Regions from separate parts of the Homo sapiens genome. Here all the other regions are linked to region 2. The links are contacts of gene promoters, found by promoter capture Hi-C in blood cells and fetal thymus (Javierre and others, 2016). All regions are on one chromosome and are shown on one strand. The core of a region is centred on a gene start or on the middle of the fragment in contact, and the rest is flanking DNA. Distances in the headings are between cores, read along the strand shown. Region 1 has its middle 54 kb from the start of LINC02817. Region 2 holds the start of HLX (H2.0 like homeobox). Region 3 has its middle 150 kb from the start of LINC02817. Region 4 has its middle 84 kb from the start of LINC02817. Region 5 has its middle 110 kb from the start of LINC02817. Region 6 has its middle 200 kb from the start of LINC02817. Region 7 has its middle 170 kb from the start of LINC02817.

Region 1 (3,748 bases), core at 576-3,075, 400 kb after region 2:
TATGTCCATGAGTACCCAGTGTTTAGCTCCCACCTATAAGTGGGAACACACAGTATTTGATTTCCTCTTCCTGCGTTCATTCGCTTAGGATAATGGCCTCCAGCTGTATCCATATTCCTGCAAAGGAAATGAAATTTTTTTTTATGGCTAGATAGTATTCCATGGGGTGTATGTAACACATTTTCTTTATCAAGTCCATCACTGATGGGCATCTAGGTTGATTCCACGTCTTTGCTATTGGGAATAGTGCTGCAATGAACATACAAATGCGTGTGTCTTTCTGGTAGAAAAGATTGTTTTCCTTTGGATATATACCCAGTAATGGGATGGCTATGTTGAATGGTGGTTCCATTTTAAATTCTTTAAGAAATCTCCAAACTGCTTTCCACAGTGGCTGAACTAATTTACTTTCCCACCAACAGTGTATAAGCTTTCCCTTTTGGGTAGCTTTGCCAACATTTTTTTGTTTTCTGACTTTTTAATAGTAGTCATTTTGATTGGTATAAGATGGCATCTCATTGTAGTTTTGATTTGCATTTCTGTAATGATTAGTGATGTGCAGCATTTTTTCATATGTTTGTTGGCCACTTATATGTCTTCTTTTGAGAAGTGTCTGTTCTTGTCTTTTGACCATTTTTAATGGGATTATTTGTTTTTTGCTTGTTGTTATGTTATTTATAAATTATGGATATTAAACCTTTGTTGGATGCGTAGTTTGCAAATATTTTCTCTCATTCTGTATGTTGTCTGTTTACTCTGTTGACAGTTTCTTTTGCTGTACAGAAGGCCCTTAGTTTAATTAGGTCTTCTTTGTCAATTTTGGGTTTTGTTGCAATTGCTTTTGAAAACTTAGTCATAAATTCTTTCGTAAGTCCCATGTCCAGAATGGTGTTTTTTAAGTTTTCGTCTAGAATTCTTATAGTTTGAGGTCTTACATTAAAATCTTTAATTCATCTTGAGTTAATTTTTGTACATGGCGAAAGTTAGGCATCCAGTTTCATTCTTCTGCATGTGGCTCACTAGCTATATCAGCACCATTTATTGAATAGGGAGTCTTTTCCCCATTGCTTATTTTTCTCTACTTCGTTGAAGATCACATGGTTGTAGGTGTGTGGCTTTATTTCTGGGTTCTCTATTCTGTTCCATTGGTCTATGTGTCTCTTTTTGTACCAATACCATACTATTTTGGTTACTGTAGCCTTGTAGTATAGTTTGAAGACTGGTAATGTGATGGGTTTGCTTTTTTTTGTTGTTGTTGTTGTTTTTTTGCTTAGGTTTGCTTTGGCTATTCGGGCTCCTTTTTGGTTCCATATAAATTTTAGCGTATTTTTTTTAATTCTGTGAAAAATGACATTGGTATTATAGTTTGATAGGAATCAGGTTGAATCTGAAAATTGCTTTGGGCAATATGACCTTCTTAATGAAATTGAGTCTTCTAATCCATGAGTATAGAATGTTTCTTCATCTGTTATCTGTGATTTCTTTTAGCAGTGTTTTGTAGTTCTCCTTGTAGAGATCTTTCGCCTGACTGGTTAGATGTATTCCTAGGTATTTAATTTTTTGTGGCTAGTATAAATGGGATTATGTTCTTGATTTGGCTCTCAGCTTGAAAATAATTGGCGTATAGAAACATCATTTGTTTTTAGAAGGATTATTTAGGATGTCTGCTCTATCAAATTTCTGCAAACACAAGATTCTCCTGATGTCCTGAAATTTTCTTTCTTGGCTTGAGATCTCTCTAATACTCCCTCTGACCATCTTTTCTAGTTTCTTCATTGGATCCTTCTTGTCTGCTCATTACCCAGAGGGCAATGTCCAATAGTGTTCTATCCTTTACCCTCTCCCAATCTGCTTAAAAACACATCCTGCCCATTGCCTTCAGCTAACTGTATGCCAATTCCTCAAAACTATGCACTGTCTACCCAGAGCAATCTTTGGAGCTCTGCATTTTTGTATCTACAGGTCTTTTTAATTTAGCATCTCAAGCTCAACATGTCCAAAATTGACTCCCTCCTCCCACTCTCTTCTTTTATTTTTTTGTTTGGGAAAATGATACCAACATTCATCTTGTTAATCAACATAGAAACATGGAGAGCATTATAGATTCCTTCCTCTCCCACATCCTCCACAGTCAATTGAATACTGCATCTATGATTTCTATCATCATAAAACCTCTCATCACAACTCAACTACCTAATTAATTTAAAGCATCATAATTTCTCTCCTGGATTGATGTGATAACATCCTAAATGTCTGCAATAAATCCACAGTTCTCACTGGAATCAAAGTAATATTTCTAAAACACATATGTGATCATCTCATAACCTCCCCCCTTCCCCTACCTAGAATTCATCAATGACTTTCTGCAGTGCTCAAGATAAATTCACATTCCAAGTTCATCTTGTTCTATTCCACGTTTACCCAGACTAAAGCCAAATTGAAATATTTGCAATTCCTCCAGCACATCATGTGTTCTCACAGCTTTGACTTTACACAGTTTCCTTTGCTTAAAATTTCCTTCCCCTTCCTCCTTGCCTGGCTTATACATTTTTATTTAATAGACATAATGTACATATTACCCTCCCATAAATCTTCCAAGTCTTTTACCTGCCTCACTCTGTTGAATGTCTTTGATTCATTCATTTAAGAAACATATATTGAGTCTGCATTATCTATCTATCTATCTAATCTTCTACATACTATGGTAATATGCTTGACATTAGGAAAATAATAAAGAATAAGAAACAATCCTTTTACATTACAGTGCAATAAATGCAAAGATAGCAGAGAGCACAGTGAAGGGGAACCTGAACCAGCCTTGAATGAACAGACAGGGCTTGTGAGGATGTTGTAAATAAGTAAATGTAATTGCTTCCTCTCTTAATTCTCTCCCTCTTATTTTCCCTACTGCTACCAGCCAAACATTTGTGTATAAAAGAAATTAGCATGTTTAGTTATGAAGTTTTTTATTTTCATAAATTTCTGTAGTTTAAATCAGCCTGGCCTCTGCCTGTTATTGACATACTAGAGAATCATAAAACTCTGAGTAATTGTGTTCATGTGTTCCAATAGGGCTTATCCAACCCTGGGAAAATAATGGCATCTGACCCAATAAGACTAGCAAAGAGCAAACCCAAGAAAAGAGATAAACATGTATTAAATGGTAGTTTTAAATTTTTTAAAGTACATTCATTTTTGTTTTATTCCACAAAGGCACCGTGGAAGCTTTTAAAAATACACACTGTTCACTGGGATAAAATATATTATCAAGGCCATGATAATAAAGGGGAAATAGAAAAGGAATATCATAAATCTGTAATAACATTAGTACATGGAAGCAGCAGAAAAAGGCTACAAATTTGATTCTAAGCTCCTTAACAGCCCAAAGAAAGAAAGATCATGATTAGTCACAGTTCTGCATAAGAAAAATAACACAAATGACTTGTTCAGTAAGGAGCATAGTTTTTGTGAAAACTGATTCCCAAGGAATTTCTCCCATGAACGCTGAAACTGCTGTGTGATGTGGTAGACAATGTTCTTAACATGATCCCTTCAATAGCTACAATCACAGACATAATGAGTCTGTCTCATAAATATCCTTTGTTGTGGGTAGTTGGCAAAATGCCAAGGAATAAGTCAGTGAAAGCTGTTCTACAAGGAGTAGATTTCAGTAAAGCACACTGAAAATTCTAAGACTTTAGAATCAAACAGCTAAAGACTGAATCCTGGTTCAATTAAACACAAGATG
Region 2 (3,989 bases), core at 1,463-3,962:
TGTAATACATAAGGGCGGATTTGCGTCACCCGAGCAACTTGCCGGTGGAGATAAAGTTGCACAAATATTGAAAGGGGAAGTGCTAGGAGTCATTATAGAGTTTTTCTCCGGAAGAAATAAGGATTTCTGCAGTATCCTAAAATACTAAGGCCGCTTCTATTTTGAGACCAATCTCGCAGGCACATCCGCTCATTTAGTCCCGAGTTTGAGCCCATCAAAAAACAGGAGATGACCTGAACTCCGGCGAGCCCAGGGTTTCCTGCTGCTTTCTTGGTTCTGAAGAGTGGGGAGTAAGGAGGGCGGGAGTCTGCGGGCTCAGAACTCGGCGAGGGGCCTGCAGGGGCCAGGCTTGGGCCTGGGGAAGGGGTAGAGGGGGCGGCGGGGGTCGCTCCAAAGACTTGTATTTCGCGTTTGCCTCCGGGAGCTGGGAGTAAGGCCTTGGATGGCGCCGACGCGGTTGCGAGGAAGCTGAGGCCTGGGAGAGCAAGGGGCGCGCAGGCGAAGTTGCAACTTGCACTCCAGCCGCGGGCCTGGCGGAGAAAGGGAGGCTCGCGGCGCCGCGAGGAGTCGGCGGGCCTCGGGGCCTCGCTTTCGCCGCATCTGCCCAGCGCTCCGGGCCTTGAATCTCGGCAGATGCGAGTTGTGGGCACCTAGGGAACCCTGAGGACTCGCATTCCCCCGGGTCTGTATCCCGTGCCCACCCCGGAGCGTCGCAAACCTTGGAAAGGGTGAAAGCTGATAGGGGAGTCTTATTTCTTAAGAGAGAGGGTGAGGGCGCGCGGCGCTGCCTCGGGTAAGGAGTAAATGCACCTCTTTCACAACCGTGAGTTTGGGCTTAGGCTGAGGTCTAAATGTTTGCAGTCAAATTAGAAACGCAATCAAACTGGAAGTGGCACTAGAAAGCAGAGGGCTCACGGCCTCCGCTACGCACACTCCCACCGAAGGCTCACCAGAACCCTCAGCCAGCGCCTCAATTGCCCATGTTGTACTTGTCGCTCCTTTGCCTTCACCTTGACACAGAAAAACTGGTCTTAATACGTCTCTCGCCCCAGGTACCCCTACCTTCAGCCAAACACACCCATCTATCTCTGGAAATAGCACCTCTCTCCTGGTTGCGTGGAGCAGGGGAAGAAAACCTTTCAGTAAAAGAGAGATGGAGAGCGAGAGCGGGAGAGCTGGAGGGCGGGAGGAGGGAGAGAGAGAGGGAGAGGGAGAGATCTTAGTGCTGGCTGATCAGAAGTGATTGATAATTTTCCAGGAGAAAGTCAAAAGCTTAAAAGGATAGCATCTGCATCAAGGGGCTAGAGAAAACACCAGAAATTAATTTTATAAGCCCAAACCCTGAACTCGAGATAGGCATGGCAAGTTCACTTGCTTTTCTGGGTTTATTTGGTGAGGAGCCTTCGTGCTGAAGGGAAATAAAAATGTCACAGAATCCCTGTTAGGAGATGCTTATTAGGGCAATCGAAAACAAAAGTTTTCGTGGTTTCATTATTCGTATTATTTTATTTTCTTCCTGAAAATGTGCAAGAACAGCTCATCTGGGTGGCCTGTGGTTTGTTTGGGAGAGGGGTGGGGAAATTCATTCTGACTATAATTTAAAGAGAAGAAATTCTTAAAATAGATATGTCGATGTTGCACAAAACCTCCACCACCACTACCCTGCGTTCTAAAGACCCAAGGCACGAATGGAAGACGTTGACCACCACGCAGCTCCTCCTGCAACCAGGCCCAAGGGGTTCCTGGGGAAGCTGTCACAGAATTGAAAGCAGTATTGAACCCCACGGAAATCTGCTCTTGTGGGCACTTGCAAAACAACGAACCCCACGTGATCCGGAGATGTGGTGGAGGGGTGAGGCTAACATTTCCTACAACCTCCTGCAAAGGATGGAAGCGCGTGCCGCTCTCCCGGGTTTCGGGAGGCAGCCTGTTTTGTAGCCTCTGAGGCTCCGGGGAAAGGTTTGGCTGCGTCTAAGAGAGACGTTTGGAGCCATCCGTCTTATTTTGTTTGAAAAGTCACTCGTTCAATTTGTCACTGTGTGACAGCTCAGAATAAAACCAATTTGCGGCCGCCCCTCCTCCTCGCTTCCCGGAGGATCTCCTGGGAGGCACGAGGCGGACGCGGTGCTGAGTTGGGCCGGGACTCAGGGCGGCAACATTTGGGCAAGGGCCCAGGAAAGATGAGGGGCTTTGCCGAGGACACGGACTCCTGGAATAAAAGCAGAATGAGGTCAAGAGAAGGGAAGCAAAGGGGCCAAAGCGCGCTCCGCTCTCCACCGGGAGGCGGGCTTTGCAGAGCCCTAAAGAGTGAGATTACCGTCCCTTCCCCACGCCCCCAACTCGCCCCGGGTGACAAGCGCTTCAGGAAAGCTCCTGTGATCAACCCTCCTTGCCCCGTGGCGGTTCGGAGCTGCAGAAGTTAGAAGAGAGTCAGAGCCCTCCGGAGCGGCTGCCTGGCCCCTACGCAGAGTAGCAAGAAGCACTGCGATGTGCGCTACTAAGCCCACGCGGCCGCAGCAAAAACTTTGGCGTGGCCGGGGCGTGGCTAGGGTCCGGCCAGGCCCCCTTGTTCCTAATTCCCCTCCACTCCCCGCTCCCATTGGTCACGAGGATGACCAATGAGCGCTCGGATCGAGGTCCTACCCCGGGCCTGACTCGAAAGCTCCTGCCAAAACTTTGGGAGTTTTTAGAGACGAGTTTTTTTTTTTTTCTATTACTTTTCCCCCCCCCTAACTAACGGACTATTATTGTTGTTGTTTTAAATTTAGCTCTTAGGGCTTAGCTATTTGGGTTTTCTTGCGGTGTCCGGCTCCCGTCTCCCTGGCTCCCCCGCCCGCCCTGCGGCCCCAGCGCCCCTCGCTCTCATCCAGCCCGCGAGGAGTGCGGGCGCCGCGCCGCCTTTAAAGCGAGGCCAGGGAGCGAGGCGGTGACCGGCCGAGATCCGGCCCTCGCCTCCTCCCTCGGTGGCGCTAGGGCTCCCGGCCTCTCTTCCTCAGTGCGGGCGGAGAAGCGAAAGCGGATCGTCCTCGGCTGCCGCCGCCTTCTCCGGGACTCGCGCGCCCCTCCCCGCGCGCCCACCCACCCAGTCCGGCTGGACTGCGGCAGCCGCGCGGCTCACCCCGGCAGGATGTTCGCAGCCGGGCTGGCTCCCTTCTACGCCTCCAACTTCAGCCTCTGGTCGGCCGCTTACTGCTCCTCGGCCGGCCCAGGCGGCTGCTCCTTCCCCTTGGACCCCGCCGCCGTCAAAAAGCCCTCCTTCTGCATCGCAGACATTCTGCACGCCGGCGTGGGGGATCTGGGGGCGGCCCCGGAGGGCCTGGCAGGGGCCTCGGCCGCCGCCCTCACCGCGCACTTGGGCTCGGTTCACCCGCACGCCTCTTTCCAAGCGGCGGCCAGATCCCCGCTTCGACCCACCCCAGTGGTGGCGCCCTCCGAAGTCCCGGCTGGCTTCCCGCAGCGGCTGTCTCCGCTCTCAGCCGCCTACCACCACCATCACCCGCAACAACAACAGCAGCAGCAACAGCCGCAGCAGCAACAGCCTCCGCCTCCGCCCCGGGCTGGCGCCCTGCAGCCCCCGGCCTCGGGGACGCGAGTGGTTCCGAACCCCCACCACAGTGGCTCTGCCCCGGCCCCCTCCAGCAAAGACCTCAAATTTGGAATTGACCGCATTTTATCTGCAGAATTTGACCCAAAAGTCAAAGAAGGCAACACGCTGAGAGGTAGGTCTTGGGCGGGAGGCTGCAGGCCTCTGACCACTGACCCACTCCCCGGACCCCGGGCTGGCTTGGGGTGCCTTTGAGTGTTTTTACAATTAAGGACAAATCGGTAAAACGGGAGAGAAGAAAACGAATTGTAAGAAAACTACAAAACATTAGGTCTAAAACTCACCTGTTCTATGTAAAACAAACAAAAAATGACTCCAGGGATTCTTTAAAAACACGTCTTAGAATCAATATTTATAAAAGTGGTTGGTGTAATTATCTGCTAAC
Region 3 (3,740 bases), core at 718-3,217, 300 kb after region 2:
ATGGACAGAGTGTCTCTTTAAAAAAAAATTTACAATATGTTTTATGTAGAAATGATAGATTCAAGTACTTTTCAAAAATGTGAGTAGCTTACTATTTTTAAAAGAAAAGATAGGTGAATTAAAAGTATATAAGTTTTCTGCATGTGCTCAATAATTAAACAAGGAGGGAGAGAGAATAAAAGAAAAGTGGGGAGGAAAAGGTGCTGGTGTGTGATACCTTTGAGTTTTATCAAAATGGAGATATTTGGGATGGAATTTGTTGTACTAGACTACTCTAACATGCCATTTTGGTATGTGCCTTAAGGAGGGAGAGATTCATGGCACACATTTATGGAGGAAATCCTGATACAGGGTTTCTAAATTCCTGAGCTGTGTGGTGGGAGGAACTATTAGGTAATTTATACTTCAGATATGGAACATTAATCTCAGTTTAACAGCAGGCTTAGTGAAACAGCAATCTTTTTTTTTATAAAGAGGGACTTAATTTATAATTTTCTTAGCAGGAGCATTAAAGAAATGATATGCAATCATCAAATTATGTGTCCAGAAAGAATTATTAACAAAATGTGAACCATCTCCTAGATAGAGAATTATTCAGTTGATTATAATTTAGTCTCTTTAGCCTGAATGGTGATTCACAAAACTAATGGCATGTCTTCATGGTCTTGTGTAGAAGGAGCAAAGGGAGGAGAGTGGAGGAAGAGAATAGAAAGCACAAAGACAGACAGATAGCAGCTTTCACAATTGTTAGCAATTTCATGAAGTCCCAAACTAGAATATATAGATATGGATTTAATTCATGAATATGCATGAATATACGTGGCCCTTCAACTAGGCTTGGGAATGCCCAGTGATGGCTTTCACTGAATCCAGTTTTCTAATCCTCTGCCATGACACAAACTTAAACTAATCAAGCAATCAACTGACCAACAACAAATAGATTCACTCATTCATCAATGTATTTTAATTGAGCACTGACTATGCACAGCACACTTGGTTAGGCTTGCACTGCCATGGAGAGAAACACTCGTACACACATGAAGATTATCATCTAGTAGGGTAAGTTTCAAACAAATACAGAAAGAGATTGTAATGTTGAAGCTGAATGAGTTCCCTGAAGACGGTTTATATATGTTTATGAAAAACATAATAAAGATATTAAGCATAGTCAAGAAATGAAGGAAAGATCTCTTTCTCTCACTACAAAGCGACAACTGGCCTCAGAAATAGGCTGAGTAGGAGATAACTAGGTAAAGAGGGGAGGAAAGAGTGTTCTAGACAGAAGAGTAGCATGTACCAAGACCTATGGAGTCAAAAACTGCCATAGGCAGTCCAAGGCAGGCCCCTGGGGCTGAATTCACTGCATGCACCCCACCTCCAGGTCCAACTCATGGCTCCCTCTTTTGTCTCCCACAGTCCAGCCATCTAGGGCTTTTAGTAGCAGGAAAGATAATCCTTGGTTCCTGGCACATTTTCGTCATTGCCCTCAGCAAGGGTTCTCTTGCTTTGAACTTTATAGGTGTGTCTATATGTATTCAGTTACTTTTTGCATGTATTTATTCTCCATTGCCCACTGGCTCTCTTCAGGATTTGTTATGTGTCCTTCAAATTGTATGTATCCTGAAATAGTGTTGTTTTCTGTATGTATGGATGAATTTTTAAATTTTCATAAAAATTATTGCACTATAAATTTCGTAGTTTCTTAATTTTGCTTTAAAGAAAGCATTGCTTTTAAATCTATTCATGGTGCCATGTATTCCACGTGCCATGTCTAACTTCTGTGTAGTATTTCTGGGTAAGCTTCCATCACATTCTGCTTACCCATTCCTTGAGGTACCTTTTCCTGATACCACAAAATCCTGGGGTGAACCTCCTCCTCTGGATCAGCCAGCATTCAGTTAGAGAAGCAGATGCACTAGGAAGGATATAAAATAAGGAGTTTATTATCAGGTCTTGAACTTATGCCATTTTTATAGCTGGTTAAATGGCTTATATACAGTTGTTGTTTCTGTAGGTGGTACTGGGGCTGAAGTCAGCAGGGCAGGGAGCTGGGAAGGAAAGACAGACAGAAAGTAAGGGAAAGCAAAGACTCACTGGAAACTGCAAGGATGACCTGAACCTCTCTTGCTGCCTCCAAGCTTCTTGATGGTGTGGTGACTGCAGGAGAAGCTGGAGCCCATTGTGGTGGAACTAAACACCTATCTGGCCCAGGATTTGGAGGAGGAGGAGGAGGAGGAGGAGGAGGGGAATGAGGAGGAGGAGGAGGAGAACAAAGAGAAGAAGGAGGAGGAGGAGGAGAAGGAGGAGGAGGAGGAGGAGGAGGAGGAGAAAAAAAGTTGGAGGGGTGTAAGCTCAGCTGTTTCCCAGGAGGTGGAGGTGCTCATTGCTGGCCTAGGATGGAGAAGGTGAAGGAGAAAATCTGGCAGGAACTGCAGGAACTGCGGCCAGCAAGGTGAGCCAGCACATCAGGGACGATATGCATAAGCTCCTGTAGGCCTGGTGCCCTACACAGAATTTCCAAATGGAATAGGTTATGTTAGCTGCTTCCTTTCTGTCTTCCAGATCTTATGTGAAATGTCCCCAAGGCCCAGATTAATTCAGAATTATAGAAGAGAATTCTAGGAAAAGTAGTTGTATCTTAGTTGTCACAGTTCAAATCCACTGTGCACACTATTGTGTGTTGTGGACCCATGTGGGCAGCTTTTTGCAGCAGACTTCTCAGAACTGGACTGCTTAGTCACAGAGTGTATGTGCACTCAGTTTGACAACACAGTGTCACGTCATTCATCATAAAGGCTATACCAGGCAATACTCCCAGCTGCAGGGACAAGAGTTCCTGTCTTTTAGCATTAAACCACTTCCCTACTTCTGTAGATCTGACAGACGTAAAGCAGTATCTTATTTTAATTCAAATTCAAATTGGTCTGATTTGTCATACATTTTAACATCACTGCATATACTTGTTAACTGTGAGAGTGTCATGTTTTTTGAGTAGCCTGTTCATATTCTTTGTCCATTTTTCTACTGAGATTTTTATATTTTTCATTTTGATTTTCAGAAAGTCTTTTTGTATTCTAGGTATTCATCATATATTGATTTAGGTGTTGAAAATATCTTTTCCTAATTGTCACTTTCTGTGAAATTTCTCTAGAGTGTCTTTTGTTAAACAGAAATTCTTAATTTTGATGTAATAAATATTTTCCATCTAAAAGATTTCTAATTTAGGTAACTTACATTTCCTTTATCTACCCAAATCTATGATTCATTTTGATACTTCTTTTTAATACTATTAATTTGGGAGTATTGCAGGGAAAATCCCCAAGAAAGATTAGATTAAAATGAAATAATTATAGATAAAAGAGGAAGCATTAAATAACATTGATTTCATTCTCAAACTCTTTTCTATGTAGATGATTGTGTCATTTGCGAATAGAGACAATTGTATTTCTTATTTTGTAATCTTTATGCCTTTTGTTATTTTTGAGCTTTATTAACCTGGTTAACACCTTCAAAACAATATTTCATCGAAGTGGTAGAAGCAGATATCCTTGTTTTATTCCCAATTTTAGGGCAAAAACATTCAGTCTTTCATCATTAAGTATAATTTTAGATTTGGAGTTTTGTATATGCCATTTATCAAGTCAAGGAAGTGCCTTTCTATTCCTAATGTGAAAGTTATTTTCATGAACGGATGCTGAATTTTGTCAAATGCTTTATCTACATCTGTTTATAGTCATATT
Region 4 (4,109 bases), core at 489-2,988, 370 kb after region 2:
GCAATAATGGCTTTTCTCATGGTAGTATTCTAGCTAGGCTTTCAATCATGACATGAAATTCAGTACAAAAATACTTTTTGAACTAGGAGTCATTCATTCTCACAAGGGTTTTTGGAGCTGGCGAATGAGTAAATGCATGAGTGAGCATTCTTGTCGAGTGGTCTTATTTAAGTGTATTGTCTAGAGGTGCCTGGTTTAGAGTCTGATTGTCAATACAAACACTTGTAAAGATAAATTATTATTGGAGTTAAAATATATTGAGGTCTTACTATGTTCTTGGAAATGCTAAACACCTTATACGATAATCTCATTTAATCTCTACTGCAATCCTATGAGGTAGGAGCAATGTTTGCCTTCATTTTATTGTTTAGTCCCTTGGACTATAAAGTCCTTAACATCATGAATCATCTCTGCTACTTCCATTGTCTCACTTCTCACACTCTGGTTCAGAGCTTCATTCCAGTTGGGTCTAAAGCAGAGCTGATTATTAGACAGGCCAAGTTCATTAAAAGTCTTGCTTTTAAAAGAGGCCTGAGAGGGCTCACTTTAGCTATCCAAGGAGTAATAAACCTGTGTCTTTTCAACTGAACCTTTAATTGTGATGCTGCCAAAACCAAAGTACCTTGGGTTGGAAATCTGAATGGTGACACACTTTGATCAAAAGTGGATCTATTATTTGTGCCACACAAGTTTTGAGTTTAGGGTTCATTTCAATGTTCCCTTCAATTCAGAAAAGCATAATTTCATTTTAAGGGAAAAGAAAACAATTGCTTTAATAAAAATCTTTATGAACAAGGTTCAGAGCGTTTCTTGGACAACAAATGACTGTTACAGAGCAACATTGTGGTGAGTTAAGTGTAAATGGTTCAGAAACATGCAGATTAAATTTCCCTGAAAACACTCAAGGGCTTCCAAAATTAATGGAGGGAAAATACTTGGACAACATATATTTCAGACTTTATAGTTTTTTTTTTCTTTTTCACTCTGTTGATTTTATTTTCCCCTACAACACTTCCTAGGGTGACTTCATCTCTTGTGGTAAGGATGCTGTCAGACCAAGTTATCATTAATTCTGATGCATTCTAGGTGGCCCAAACTGGGTATCAGCTGTATTCCCTCCCTTACAGAGTTAGCTTTTTCTTTCTATTATTTGTTTTTCAATATAGGAAAGGTATAAAAATAAAAGCACAATTCAAAGTCTGTGGAAAGCTTTTAGGCCTTGTGAAAGTCCACCATCATGACACTTGAGAGATAAATGTGTGAGGTTCTTGTATGTTGAAGACTGATAAATCTTCTGTGCTTTAACTTAGAAAATATCTCAATGGATATAGATGTGGTAGGGGGATTCATAAATCAAGATTTGAAGATTCTTAGAAGGGACTTTTGAAAGGCCCTCTAGCCCATTCCCAAGCCTCAGAAATGTCTCAATAGAAAGCATGACAGAAAAATAATTATAGTCCTATTTCTTAAATGTTGCCTTAGATAAATTTTCTTCAACAGGCGTTAGAAAAATATTCCTATGTTCTCTGCCTTGTGGAGGTTCTCATAAAACTAACCAAATTCCATTTTGTAGGGATTTAAGCTTATTTTCCTTCTTTCTGTGTTTGGAGGAGGCAAATTCTGGGACACTAGTAACCGTGCCTTTTCTTATTTGGACCTTGCACTACCTTGGTCAGTGAAGTATGTCAGACATTTCTTTCTTTTCAAATATGGAAATGCTGACAATGCTCATTTTGGGATTCCGCTATGTCTCCAAGCAATATGGTCTCCAATGTTACTGAAGTACTGTAATAAATCCTTTCAATTTCAGGACATTATGTGATAGGGAAAGCAATTCACCTCATTGAATGAGTGCAAAAGCAGTAGAAAATATGGTAGCTGTCTCCTAGAACTTAAAGCTTACTTGGGGTTAAAATTTACATACATGGCTGAGTGAGGAGGTCAGCAAACTCTCTTCCCAAATTAACTACACACCTAGATAAAATGGATTAAAAATCTGTTTCTAGGACTCAAACAAAAGCATAAAAGAATCAGAGAATCCTTCATGCTTAAAAACCTTCAAATAAGAAGTTTAAGTAAGAACAATGGGAGCCAGTGATGTTCTTGCGTGGACCTGCTCCATTCCACCCCACCCACCCTCCAGCTCAGTCTGCAAGGAGGGTCTGGAAGGGCCAGGTGGGCCAGGAAAATGTGCAGCTTCACTGCCACAGCTGAAGGGGTATCACTTGATGTGGAATGGTGAGCAATGCCTACACCAAGCATGGCAAAAGTGACAATATAGGCAGTGGGAGGGCCTACATCTCTACTAGCCTAAAGGAACTATCATGGTGATAGAAGGCAATAAGTATAGCACTGCAGGGTTAGGTTTAGAACATATTCAGATGTAATATATATGGCAATTAAAGTACAAAGAGAGAAGGAGAGAAGCTTTATTAAATTTTCTATATTTTACCAGAATTAAGTTAGTATTAATTTATGAAGTTTGTGTTATAAATTATTATGTATATGTTAATCCTCAGATCAGATCGGCCACTAATACAATTATAACAAAAAAAAATCAAAAGAGGAATTAAAATGGTACATTTTTTAACACCAAAGTAATTAAAAGCAACAGAGGGCTAAAAATATAGGAGACATATAGAAAACAAAAAGCAGAGTGGCAAATATAAATCCAACTATATCAATAATTTTATTAATGTGAAAAGCCTAAACACCTTGATCAAAAGGCAATGACTGTCAGAATGGATCGAAAAGCAACATCCAACTGTATTTTAACTATAAGGAATACACTTTAGATTCAAAGACAAAAATAGGTTAGAAGCAAAGGATGGAAAACGATATACCAGGCATAAAAAAGAGCTGCAGTGGTCATACTAACATCAGACAAAATTGAATTTAACATAAGATATATCACTGGAGACACAGAAGGTCATTTTATAATGCTAGAAGTGTCAATACATCAGGAAAATATAACAATTATAAATATATACACCTAACAACAGAATTTCAAAATAAAGAAAGCAAAACCAGCCAGAATTGAAAGGGAAAATGATAATTTTACAATAACAATTGAAGATTTCAATACTATGCTTTTAAAAATCAATAGAACAACCAGACAAAAGTTTATCAAACATATAGGAGACTTGTCCTACACTTTTAGCCAACCCAACCTCTGTTTTAAAAGAACAGTCTACCCACTGATAGCAGAATATACATCTTTTCAAGCAGATGACATATACTGAATGTGGACATTCCCATGAAATTCACAGAAAATACTAGAATTAATATAGGAGTTATCAGTATACAAAATTAATTGTATTTCTATACGGTAGCAATAAATTATATGAAATAAGATCAATAAAATATTTGATTTCTAATAGTATCAAAAATTTAATATGAGTAAGATGGTGCCTTAGTCCTTTAGTGTTTCTATGAAGGAATACCTGAGGCTGGATAATTTCTAAAGAAAAGAGGTTTATTTGTCTCATTATTCTGCTGGCTGGAAGATTAGGCAGCTGATAAAATCTTTAAGCTGCTTCCACTCATGGCAGAAGGGAAAAGGGAGCCAGTGTGTGCAGAGATCACATGTCAAGAGAGGAAGCAATAGAGAATGTGGGGAGGTGCCAGGCTCTTTTTAACAGCCAGTTAGCTCTTGTGGGAACTAATAAAGTGAGAACTTCCTCATAACTGCAAGGACAGCACCAAGCCATTCATGAAGAATCTGCCTCCATGACACAAACACCTCCTATTAGGCCCCATCACCAACATTAAGTATCACATTTCAGCATGAGGTTTGGCGGGGGGGACAAATATTCAACTACAGCAGATGATAGTTCACCCCCAATTAGTACAATAAAATCAATGCAATCCCTATCAAAATATCAGCAGGCATTTTTGTACAAATTGATAACATTTTTCTAAAATTTACATAAAAATGCAAAGGATATGGAGAGCCAAAAGAACTTTTGAAAAAGAACAAAGTTGGAGGATTACTTTACCTGATTTCAAAATTTACTATAACATAAAAGTAGAAAACACAATGTGGTGAAATATAAAACTATTGTAAAAGAATATACACTTCAATAGATAAATGGCACAGAATCGAGAGT
Region 5 (3,762 bases), core at 653-3,152, 350 kb after region 2:
TGGGGAGCCCCTCGGCAGGGAGGCTTTGATGATTTCTTCAGACACACGGAGCAGACTGACAAATTGACTTTCAAGTGAAAGGTCAGAGCCCAGGACTGAAAGGGTAGAGCATCTGGATTCACAATTAAAACGCCTACCGAGTACACTTTGCAGCTCTGGCGTCTCGTCGTGTAGGAGGTGCTGTCAGAGGGACTTATTTGGCAGCTGTTTCTGACTCTGGATTGGGATTGAAGAAAATAAAAATTCCTTGTGGTTGTCTGTGCGTGTGTGTGTGGCGCACCTGAAACCATGTGTGGGTGTTTCAAGAGAAACCTTGCTCTTTGGCAAAAGCAAGCACAGCTAACTTTTGCTAACTCAGTTCTGCCCTAGAGCTGACCTCCAGAATGGTCTGTCCAGAGTGAGTGAATCCTCAGAAGAGTTGGCTGGTTCATCACTGTGCTGGCCTTATAAAACTGCGGATTAAACAACGCTGTGGACGGAGGTTAATCACTGATTTACTCTGTAATCTTGGCAAGTTTTCTTTTAGGATGTATAAAAGGGCTGCACCCAGACACCTGCAGAATGGAAATGTACTTGCTCTTCCAGTTGAAAAGACAGCCTGACCCCACTGATGCCTTTCCTCTATTATTAGTTGGTCGCAGGAATATTTGTTCTATTTCCAGTTTGCAGAATGTTTCCATACCCAAGGATATAGTGAGAGCAAACAGGCTATCCCTAATAAGTGCCTGAGTGCCCCATAACCCCAAAAGGTGCTCGATAGCTGGGGGCTCAGTAAACCCAAAGCTCAGCTTTCTCAGGATGCTTTATCTGCCCAGAACTTGCTTTTGAGTTCTTACTGACATAATCAAGCAGGTAGATGATAAAACCCTGTAGTGACACCATTCATTGTGGCTTGTTTACTTTACTCCCCTTCGCAGCAGTCAGCCCGGCAGGAGGTCTCTAAAACACTCCGTTGAATGATGGGATGCAAACCTCTCTCCACAGTTGAGGCTCTCTGCTTCTCCTGCTACCTCACACAGGCGCAGGTGGTTTCACTTTGGGGGGCACTTAGGAAGGGATATTTATAGCTCACTCTTCCTCTTCCTCCTCCTCCTAGCAAGCAGTCAAAATAATAAAATTAAGCTTGTGGTAGAAAGCGTTGGAGAGGGTTGCTAGAAAGAGAGGGACAGAGACGGAGGATTCAGAGGCTCTTGATTGGAAAGGACCAGCATTTTCCAATAAGTCAAAATAACAGCAAAGTCTGAGCTCCTGGCTGCACTGGTTGGGAGACAAGAATCCCTTTGCTTAATCCGACTTATGTGGCTTACTACCTACATGACCTTGGGCATGTTATTTAACCTATCCGTGCCTCAGTTTCCCTTTCTGCAATATGAGGATAATAAGGCCTATCTCACAGAGTTGTTGCAAGGATTAAATTAGCTAACACGTGAAATGTTTAGAACTGTCTCTAGCACATAGTAAGCACTACACGACTCTTGGCAAACGTCATTAATTTTATATGGATTAATTCATTGTCCTTTTTCTACCTGCCTCATCCATCTACTGACTTCAGGTAAGCATACTCTTCTTCTTTTTTTTCTTTTTTTTTTGAGGCAGAGTCTCGCTCTGTCGACCAGGCTGGAGTGCAGGGGCGCAATCTCGGCTCCCTGCAAGCTCCGCCTCCCGGGTTGACGCCATTCTCCTGCCTCAGCCTCCAGAGTAGCTGGGACTACAGGCGCCCGCCACCACGCCCGGCTAATTTTTTGTATTTTTTAGTAGAGGCGGGGTTTCACCGTGTTAGCCAGGATGGTCTCGATATCCTGACCTTGTGATCCGCCCGCCTCGGCCTCCCGTAGTGCTGGGATTACAGGCATGAGCCACCACGCCTGGCCTCCAGGTAAGCATACTCTTAATTTGAACTCTGCAATAACCTGTATGAGGGAAGCAGGGCAAGTGTAATTACCATCCTTTTACAGATGAGAAACTATGGATAAATTCTTACACAGTCCTGATTCTTACTTATATACCTATATTTTCTCTTTATTTCTCCTATTCACTTTAGCACTTTCTACTAGGTAAAAGTAGTAGATTATAGATAGATTTATATATAAAAATTGATCTAGCCACCTGTAATCTACTACTTTTTATAGTATATACTATATATAAATAAGTATAATATATAATCTACTACTTTTACCTAGTAGAAAGTTATATATATATAAAATTTGTTGTATACCAACTATATACCAGAAACTGTTGTCAGTGCTAGATATAGAAAGGTGAATGAGAAACATAAAGTCTTTGCTGTCTTGGAGTTTATAACTTCCTCTTATCTCATCTGTTAGAATCTAAGCTCCTGGCAGGGAGGAAATATGTCTAATTTATCCTTATGTCTATCAGAGTTTTCTAGCACAAAGTTTTGCTCATAGTAAGTATTCAAACAGTTGTTGCTACAAAAGTTATAGCTCACATTTGAGTGCATACTAATGTCAGACACTGTGTTGTTTTACATTATTATCTTGCAAATCCTACAGTAACAATCCTCTGAAATTGGTATTTTTAGTAGTCTTATTTTATGATGGAGAAACCAATATTGGAGATTTGCCTAGGTTCGCTCAAATAGTAAGTTGTTACAAAACTCAGTCCAGCCTTGCTTGACTCAAAATGTCATGCCTTTTGTCCTTGGAAATAAAGTTGAGATGAATAAGCTTTACTAAGTTATCTTAATAGGTAGGCTAATGGAATCCCAAAGTAGTTAAACAAGCTACTGAAATTGGCATACCTCCTTACTCCTCTCTGACCTTTTTTGCTGAACTCTTTATACTCACCCAAAGAATAAAATTTCCTACATGGGCTAGGGCATTGACCTCAGGGTTTCCTTGTTTCCCTGGCATCTATGTTTGGTAGTAAATTTATGCTCTCTTGTGTTCTGTTGGCAAGGAAGCAGCTATCTAAATACTGGGCTGTTGCCACAGCCCTGGGAAATAGAAACATTGGTCATTCTACTTGCCACACAGCCTAAAACATGCAGCCTATTTTTGGCATATGCAGAGTAAGGTATGCAGAGTAAGGCAATAATTAAACAGTAGTTTGCTTAGTGAATACGTTACAGGCCTAGGTTCTGTGAAGGCAATATGGAGTTTAAAATATTTATTTTATTTGTTTATCAATTGATGTATATGGTCCTACCTAAGTATACAGGACTTGTTTTAGTGTCTTCAGTTCACCAGAAAGATGAGTAATCTTAATTTCTACATCTAAATTTTATGGTGTTCTTTCAAAACAAATCAACCTCCTGGATAAATGTAGGGATTATTTTTTAAATGAAAAACTGAAAAGATAATTTTCATCTCTATATCTCCTTATCACAGCAAAAGGGCATGATTCAGTGATTTGTTAGTCTATCATTTAAGGAATGGCCATTGGCAAATACTAAAGACAATTTTTTTTGCATGGTTTGTGGAATCAGCCTCAGTACTTTACTCTCACTCACTCACATATTTAAAAATTAAAAAAAAAAATTAAAAACCTTCTTGCCACAGAGAAATAAAGGGTAGCCACAACAGATCAGCAGCTTAGAAATGGAAATATTTTAATTAATTAATTCATTAAGTAAGTACTTATTAAGCCTCTGTCTAGCACAGAATTAAACTAGCAGATGAACACTGGCTCTAAATATAAGAAGGTCATTCATTAATTCACAACTGCAAGTACCTTATGTTAAAATTCACATGTCAGGCTGCTTGGGTGATATTTTTAATTGATTCTATTAAGAAAATGGTA
Region 6 (3,979 bases), core at 1,180-3,679, 260 kb after region 2:
CTGATCATCACTAGGGAGCAGGAAAGGCCTACTAAATAGACTACTAGAATCAACCTTATTTAAAAATTTGAATTGCATTATCAGATGTATACCAGGAGAGTGCTTTGTGTACTGAATATTGTGTATACACAATAACATACTGATTTGTAGTTTTTCATGGCAACGTTGTGTACTAAATGAAGAAATGTTGACTAACTAGAATTTTCACTTGGATTCAGAACTTATTGACCAATCGTTCAAAGAATGGCTGCTAATTTTGCTATTAATATTTAGTTTTGGAACAGTGAAGTTGGTATGGTTTTGATATCAGATCTGGGTTCAAATCCCTGCTGTTTCTAAGTGAACCATTATACTTAGTTTTATGTAGTTTCCTACACTACAAAAAGCAAAGAAAAAATAATACTTATTTAATAGTGTTGTGATGACTAGATTAAATAAAGTATGTCAAAGAGCTTTATAAATTATTATGCCTTAGATAAATTCTAGTTATTATTGTATTTCAGCCAAACTGTGTTTAAATTTCCAATTATGAGAAAGTCTAAATCTGGACTATGTTTCTGCTTATCTATTTATGTCAGAATAAAAGTACAAAATAGTCTCCATCATTAGAGAAAGTTCAATACTTTGCTAAATTAAAAACTCATTTATTTTTAGAGCAGGTACAAAATTATTTGAGCTGATTATTAAGGCTGCTTCGACAAGGGCACAGCAAACTTGGACGATGGGCTAAACCTAGTTCACCATCTACTTTGCAGTTTTATTGGAGCACAGTCATGTCCATTCACTGATGTATTGTCTATAATTGCTTCCAAGCTATGACGGCAGAGTTAAGTGGTTGTGACAGAGACCGTATAACCCACAACATGCAAAAGATCTGGTGCTTTATAGGAAAAGTTTGCTGACATCTTGACCTACACAAAAATGTCTATAGTGTGTAGCCATACCTAATCATATGTGGGGAGGATATGTTTAGCAAAGATAAGGCAATTCTGGAGTTTACCAATTACAGTAATCAGAATGAAAGTCCAAATACTATAAAGACTGTGTGCATTTTGTCTAATAAAGTCACAAGGGAGTTATTAATTTTTGTAAGCTCATAGAGAGTATAACACAAAGAATAGGGCTTTGGAGCACAATTTTAAAAAGTCTTTGGTATTGGAATTCCAGGAGCTGGCCTGAAGAACTTCTTGGGAATAAAGACTCCAAAGAGAAGCTGAGTGTTGCTTTGGGACTGCCTGGCTGGAACTTCCCTGTTTTACTTTGATGTATGTACTGGACCAATGCTATCATGAATCCAATCATTCCTGAGAGCTGAGGAAATTCTCTCTGAAGTTTCCAGAAGCTATAAGCATTATGCTGCTGAAAAACGCATTATTTCCAGTAGTAGTTGCTTTGTGCTAAGAACCTGGCAGAATGAACTTTGTGTAGTAGTTTGGCTCAGCCACTTTTGAAACAGGCAATTGCCTTTACTAAAATAGGAACCAATGCCCTCCTTTGCCCCACATTTACACTAGATCCAAATTTTCTTAGAGACAAGCACTTGCCCTGTTTCCCAGGCTGGAGTGCAGTGGTGCAATCATAGCTCACTGGAGCCTCAAACTCCAGGGCTCAAGTGATCCTCTTGCCTCAGCCTCCCAAGTAGCTGGGACTACAGGCTTGTTGCGCTCAGCTTCTTTAAGAAGTTTCAAAATAATTCAATGCTTTTCCAAGAACATTTTCAAGCAAGAAAGTCATCAGAATAGTCTTATTCTGATTTCTTTTTAATTTTTTTATTTTTTAAATTTTATTTGTTTCAGATTTGGAGGCACATGTGCATATTTGTTACATGGGTATACTATGCACTGGTGGGGACTGGGCCTCTAGTGCATGTGGATTTCTGTTTCAGTGGTCAAGGTTAAATGAAGACATTAATAAATGGTATTTTGTAAGATTTCAGACTGATCAGAGATGGTGGTCTGGATGATGCTGGAAGCTCAGCCATAGTAATGTTGTTAATGGTGGGCTCTACTCATTAGTTAGAGCGAGTGGACTGCTAAGTTATGATAATAAAAACTCTAATATTGAACTTACTATTTATTTGAGGGCTGAGTAAGTCTTTGATAAATTTTGTAAGTTTATGATTTGGGCTGGTGGAAATAAATTATGAGTAGGATATCTATCTATATTACTCTTCTAGAGGTGAGATGAACTGAATTGTATGAAGGGAAAAAGGACAGCTAGAAGTAGTCTTTAGAAAGCTACTGAAGCTTTGATATGATTTGGCTGTGTCCCCACCCAAATCTCACCTTTAATTGTAGCTCTCATAATCCCTAAGTGTTGTGGGAGGGAGCTGGTGGGAGGAAATTGAATCATGGGGATGGGTTTTTCCCCATGGTGTTCTTATGATAGTGAGTAAGTCTCATGAGATCTGATGGTTTTATAAAGGGCAGTCCCCTTACACACGCTCTCCTGCCTATTGCCATGTAAGACATGACTTGCTCTTTCTTCACCTTCCGCCATGATTGTGAGGCCATCCCAGACATACTGAACTCTTGAGTCAATTAAACCTCTCTCCTTTATACATTACCCAGTCTCTGATATGTCTTTATTAGCAGCATGAGAATGGAGTAATATAAGCTTTCTCTAGTAAGTTGAACTAGGTCTCTAGAAATATGTGCATATTTCCTAATCTTAAGTAGAGCATAGATAACCTTAAACTAAATCATAGAGGTTTAGAGTTTGGAACATTTGCAATAATTTATTTCCATCTTTTCCAACTTTAACCCCATTTTGTAGATTATAAAAAACTGAGGAAGATGAAATGATTTTGCTATTGTCATACATCGAGTTTCTGTAAGAACACAGATTAGAACTTGACCCTTTGGTGTAATGCCGTTTCCTCTATACAACATTCCAAAGCTAATTGAGAGGGAGTGTGCCTGTGAAGGAATTCAGCTAATGGGGTATGAACTGAGGGAACCAAGTTGTGTTAAGTGAGCATGGCCAATACTGAGGATGCCTGAGGCTGAGTACTGAGGAAATGACAGTTTGAAATGGATCTGAGAGGAAAATTATTGCCATGGCAGAAACAATGTGGACAACTTTATGCTGGTGACTAATTATAACTAGAAGATTTTAAGAAGTCATTTTAATTAGCAAGTCCTTAACAGTCTAATGAGAAAAGTGAATGCTAATAAGCATGTCTGACATCCTAGACCCTGTCAAAATCCTGTCAGGAATGTGGCGAGTGGTGCTCCCGACAGGGAGGCAGTGAATGAACGACACAGGCTGACAGGGCAGGCCTCTTAAAGGGCACACACTTTTAGCGACTGATTTTTGAATAGAAGAGAAGACACAATATGAGGACATTTGGAATTTGAGTGGGGGGATTGGAATATAATCATCATTTAACTTAATAATTTATCTATGTTATTACAGGTGAACAAACAATTTCACATGCGTTTATAAACTGTGGGAAGTCTCTCTCTAACCTGTGTAGGAAGATTTCTGGTTCCAACAAGGATGATGCCCTCTTCTCTCAAATTAATCCTGGAGAAAAGAAAAAAAATTAACAGAAGTGAAACATGAATTCTAACAATGAATAAAACCAACCAACAGACTGTGGGAACACCCTGAGGGTACAGAAGACTATTTGCACTTGCGTGTGTCAGTTTCAGCCAGGGGAAGAAGGTGGCCCAAGGTGGCAGTGGAGCTTTCTGGATTCTGCTCTTGTCCTTCTCTGGCTTTACTTCAAGACAGCCATCACTCGCCTCTTCACTGCAGAGGTGACCCAGGATCACAGAGAGGCTGCATAAATATTGCTGAGGGAGGAGTTAATGAAAACAAGGGCTTCTGGACCCATTTGCCTTACCCCTACCCTTCAGACCCACAGGGCTCGTGGATTAAAATCTAGGGAGGCTACCTTCTCATAATGCATCTTCTCCTTAAGGTTTAAGGTCAAGACCTGAGCAATAGAGTTACATGATGGGTTCCTACAAAT
Region 7 (3,818 bases), core at 668-3,167, 290 kb after region 2:
TCCTTTTTCTTTCTTTCTTTCTTTTTTTTTTTTTTTTAAACAATCTGTTTAATCAAGCGCAACTTCTCTTTCCCTAACCCAGGACTAAACAAGTCAGAGCTTTGCCTTTCTAATTTATCAGCCAGTAAATTACAACAGCAAAAGTCTTGTGTATGGCCAGGGATTTTCCACTCAGAGTGAAGGAGATCCTGAGGGGCCAGGCATAGTGGATTTGATATGTGACTCATGGTTTGGGTAGCATTACTTGTGAACACAAAAAGGTCAAGCAGGGAAAAGCTATATTCCATAAATAATAGAGTAAAATTAAAAGTTCCTCTCCATGACACTGGAATTTTGAATGCTGCTATAAAATGATTAATCAGAAGATGTGTCATTTGTGTAAGTAAGAAATGAAGGATAACTAAAGAAATGGGAAATAAGGCAAATTTAAAAGGCATAATTAGAATGTAAAGGAGAAGCAGCTGAAGATACCTAATTTTCATATTGTGCTGATTTTCATAAGGAGTATCATTTCTTTTTGTAGCCTAATATTCTCTATAGTTAGCAGAAAACAATAGTTTCCATATATATTTATTGTGTTTCTGGTTGTATTTCCATTCTGAAACTTAAACATTCATTTGTATGTTTATGGTTAATTACATTATGGTTAAGTGTATTAAATAATCATTCAACTTGACTTCCAGGTGTTAATTAGAAGTCTTATTCTAAACTTGAATCATTTTAAAACATTATAAATTTGCATAAAACATACAAATAAGAACCAATTATTAAAGAACTCTTACTTAAAATAAAAGAGGTAGCTAGATGGTCTCTGAGGCCACTTCCAATTCCATAAGTCCAATGACTTTAAATGGCTGTGGGAGTAGAAACAAACAGAACTACAATTCTCTTACTTCCTAATTGCTTTTTGCTCTTCCCAGCTGGCATTTTGGATTCATGTTTCACTTGTAAGGAGGTCCTTATTTCCTGTGCTTTGGTCTCTCCAACTAGATGGTAACGTCCTTGTGGCACAATCCAAGCTTCTAGTGCTTCCTGTAAGGTTCTGTGCCCAGTGGGCAGAAATGAGAATTAATGGAGTAAAAGCGATGGATTCCCTGATGTGGGCTAAATGCACTGATCATCATTTGTGAGATCTGGAATGCTTTTCTAACAGGTCTTGAATTTGACCTCTGACTTCATACCAAAATGAAGGAAGGAAATATGGCAGGTGTCCAAGAAGTGTGAAATAAAAGGATAAAAGGATGAAAGGGCCGTAGATTGTTCTCAGCTTGGGACTAGATGGAGAAGGCTCTGGGCTTTTTTGGACAAATAAGAATTTGAATTGTTTTTGAGTTTTCAATGAAGCCCATGTAGGTCCCTGAACAAGATGGCAGGATGGCAGTCAGGGTGTGAGCAATGGCTGTGCTGATGGGAAGAAGTCATCTGTTCAGTGTAGCATCTGCTTTTGTCCTATTTCCTTCTCTTGCCTTGGAGGAAAGAGATGATGGAGTCTTCTGGGCAGATTTTACAGTGATTGATTGATTCGAAGCACAGAATGTTAGTACTGGAATGCTATGGAGCTGAGGAAACAGACCAGAGAGAAGTTACTCAGCAACTTGGAACAAGAACTCTGATATTCAGATTTCCTCTGAGTCCAGTGTTCTTTTCTCCACATCACTCTGAGAATGTTCTACTTGACCTTAATCTTTTTCCTGCTTTCATCCAATCTAGGCATTCTTGTTTTTTGCTGTCTTAAACCACAGAATGTTTGAATACACACTACATTTGGGGAGGGGGGTTGTTTTGTTTTGTTTTATCTTGCTCTAGCCCTTCTGGGAGATAAGCTCATTTAATTTATCTGCAATTTAGATTATGAACAACCATCCTTCTTAGATTAGACACGTCTCATCAGAGGTCACTCCATCCTACATTTTCCTCTGGTAAAAATAAGCATTCTGAAAGGTGACCCAGTCATAGTAGGGAAGAGGAACACAGGGGACTCCCATGACTGTGATGTATGATGATATTTCTGAAGAAAGTCATAACCATTTAGAGGCCAGGTTTTGATGAATTGCAGGAAATGGCGGATTTGCAACCATTCCAGAATTCCCAGGGACTGATTGTCATCAAGCGATGATAAGAATTTTAACTAGCATATTGTGGAACCCAGATCATGGCTAGGACTCGGGCCGAAGTGTTCTGTTTGGGTCTCCTGTTATATAGCATTTGCCTCTGGGAGAAGAGCTTAAAATTATTTTTAACTTGCCTGAGTCTCATTTCTATTTATCTGCTGAGGTCAGGAATTAGCAGTAAGGGAAAAAAAAGCATACTGCAAAATGCTCTGCCATGAAGTCAGACTGCACTCATCCTCCCTCCCCTTCCAAAAGGAATATTTTCTCCCAGGAAACAAACCCACATGATGGAATCATTAACTTGGGCACAGAGCTGGCAGGGAAAGGATCAGCCTTTCTTCCTACATCATTGGGTCTCCGGCCTTCAACAGCCATTGCTGCTAAATCAAGATACAGCAGGGACGTAACTGGGCATTCTGACCACCTTTGATTTCTTGGTGGGAAACCAATAAATATCAAGATGACAGGATAAGAATGCAACTGAGCTGATGGAAAGTATTTTCCCACTATAGATTGTGATGACTTGGTTTCATTAGAACAGTTGAGGGTACAGCCGATAACTAAAAGCAACAACAGTGAACAAAGGCTTGGTGAGGAGACTAGCATCTAGGAGTTTCTCCTTCTTCTGACCCTTTGAGTAACCCCATTGCTGAAACTCTCATTATATCATTTTGAGAGTGCTGCTGATCTCTGCCATCTCATTTGTAAGCTTTTCTCCATCTCCCTCTCTGTCAAGCATGGTATTAAGCAAATAGTACACTCTCCAAACACATGTTTTAAATTGATTTCTTTCTTTTGGGTGGTAAACCCAAAGATAGGATTTTGTAGAAACAAAACCAGATCTTCCCCCTCCACAGTTATTAAATTATCCAAAGCAAGAGATATTTTTACCAAAGCCTGTAGTGTTTTAATAAGGCCAGCTATTTAGGAAGTGGTGACAATGTGCAATCTGCAAAAAGGGGAAGCCTCGGAGGTGCTGTGGTAATAATGCAGTTACTTAAAGAACATTTAAACTACAAATATCTCTGTGGTTTTTTATTTGGTTCCATATGACAGTCACTCTGAGAAATTTCTCAAACCTTGGCTAATCACTTTAAAATGTAAGGCTTAGCAAATAATCATACTTCCCCAAATGCTCTGGTCTCTTCAAACTTTACTTTTTTTTTTTGCATTCGATAAAGGTACGCAATTCAATGCAAAGAAGAGCTAGGGAGGAAAATTGAGAGCATTTTAGCAGACAGGTGGAAAAAAATAGCTATAGCCCTGAAGTTGTAGGACAGTTTCAACTATCGATATGGAAAATAACTAAAATGTGATGAAAATGTAGGAGAGTCACGTCTTTTGAAGGCCAAGCGTTTGGTTCATTGAAATTGTGGGATGTGCCTGGTTTATGTGAGTGGAAAGAAAGTTCTTGCTTACAGGGACTGAGCCCCAGTGTTCCAATGTGTGCTGGGTCACATTAAAAGAAGCAGCTGGAAGTGTGTGTGTGTGTGTGTGTGTGTGTGTGTGTGTGTGTATGTGCATGTCTGTGTGCTTTAACTCAATTTGGAATGACATTTGCTCTTCTCAGCATCTCTTAATTTGACTAGTCATTAACCTAAAGTGGAAATCTTGCGTATGATTCTATGTTTCCAGTAGGTGGTGGGGTGGTAGAACATGTGGATTCTGCTGACGCCCTCAGGGAGCTAGTGACTAGGAGGAACATTA

What was found. The method cuts DNA at HindIII sites, captures the fragments that hold promoters and counts their contacts. A CHiCAGO score of 5 or more calls a contact.
Region 1: a contact is called between a fragment that was not itself captured here and the fragment with the promoter of HLX in region 2, in 1 of 17 cell types (neutrophils). The highest score is 6.7, in neutrophils.
Region 3: a contact is called between a fragment that was not itself captured here and the fragment with the promoter of HLX in region 2, in 9 of 17 cell types (neutrophils, monocytes, total B cells and 6 more). The highest score is 18.0, in neutrophils.
Region 4: a contact is called between a fragment that was not itself captured here and the fragment with the promoter of HLX in region 2, in 1 of 17 cell types (neutrophils). The highest score is 5.5, in neutrophils.
Region 5: a contact is called between a fragment that was not itself captured here and the fragment with the promoter of HLX in region 2, in 3 of 17 cell types (neutrophils, monocytes and M2 macrophages). The highest score is 8.4, in neutrophils.
Region 6: a contact is called between a fragment that was not itself captured here and the fragment with the promoter of HLX in region 2, in 2 of 17 cell types (neutrophils and monocytes). The highest score is 9.5, in neutrophils.
Region 7: a contact is called between a fragment that was not itself captured here and the fragment with the promoter of HLX in region 2, in 10 of 17 cell types (neutrophils, monocytes, M0 macrophages and 7 more). The highest score is 26.8, in neutrophils.

The regions. Positions count from the first base shown.
Region 1 is chr1:221,280,666-221,284,413 of GRCh38, forward strand. No RefSeq gene overlaps it. Among named protein-coding and RNA genes, the nearest start is that of LINC02817, 54 kb to the right of the region's middle. The HindIII fragment of the contact is 2,795 bases long and covers 429-3,223 here.
Region 2 is chr1:220,876,731-220,880,719 of GRCh38, forward strand. HLX (H2.0 like homeobox) reads left to right here and starts at 2,713. Exons shown (of 4, transcript NM_021958.4): 1 at 2,713-3,719. The coding sequence starts at 3,128. It overlaps HLX-AS1 (HLX antisense RNA 1), which reads right to left and starts at 3,410. Exons shown (of 3, transcript NR_046901.1): 1 at 3,119-3,410. RefSeq lists a silencer at 2,270-2,319 and an enhancer at 3,438-3,989. The HindIII fragment of the contact is 7,579 bases long and covers 1,271-3,989 here.
Region 3 is chr1:221,180,544-221,184,283 of GRCh38, forward strand. No RefSeq gene overlaps it. Among named protein-coding and RNA genes, the nearest start is that of LINC02817, 150 kb to the right of the region's middle. The HindIII fragment of the contact is 338 bases long and covers 1,799-2,136 here.
Region 4 is chr1:221,250,049-221,254,157 of GRCh38, forward strand. No RefSeq gene overlaps it. Among named protein-coding and RNA genes, the nearest start is that of LINC02817, 84 kb to the right of the region's middle. The HindIII fragment of the contact is 316 bases long and covers 1,581-1,896 here.
Region 5 is chr1:221,227,885-221,231,646 of GRCh38, forward strand. No RefSeq gene overlaps it. Among named protein-coding and RNA genes, the nearest start is that of LINC02817, 110 kb to the right of the region's middle. The HindIII fragment of the contact is 1,565 bases long and covers 1,121-2,685 here.
Region 6 is chr1:221,138,856-221,142,834 of GRCh38, forward strand. No RefSeq gene overlaps it. Among named protein-coding and RNA genes, the nearest start is that of LINC02817, 200 kb to the right of the region's middle. The HindIII fragment of the contact is 370 bases long and covers 2,245-2,614 here.
Region 7 is chr1:221,163,975-221,167,792 of GRCh38, forward strand. No RefSeq gene overlaps it. Among named protein-coding and RNA genes, the nearest start is that of LINC02817, 170 kb to the right of the region's middle. RefSeq lists a silencer at 3,092-3,211. The HindIII fragment of the contact is 1,801 bases long and covers 1,018-2,818 here.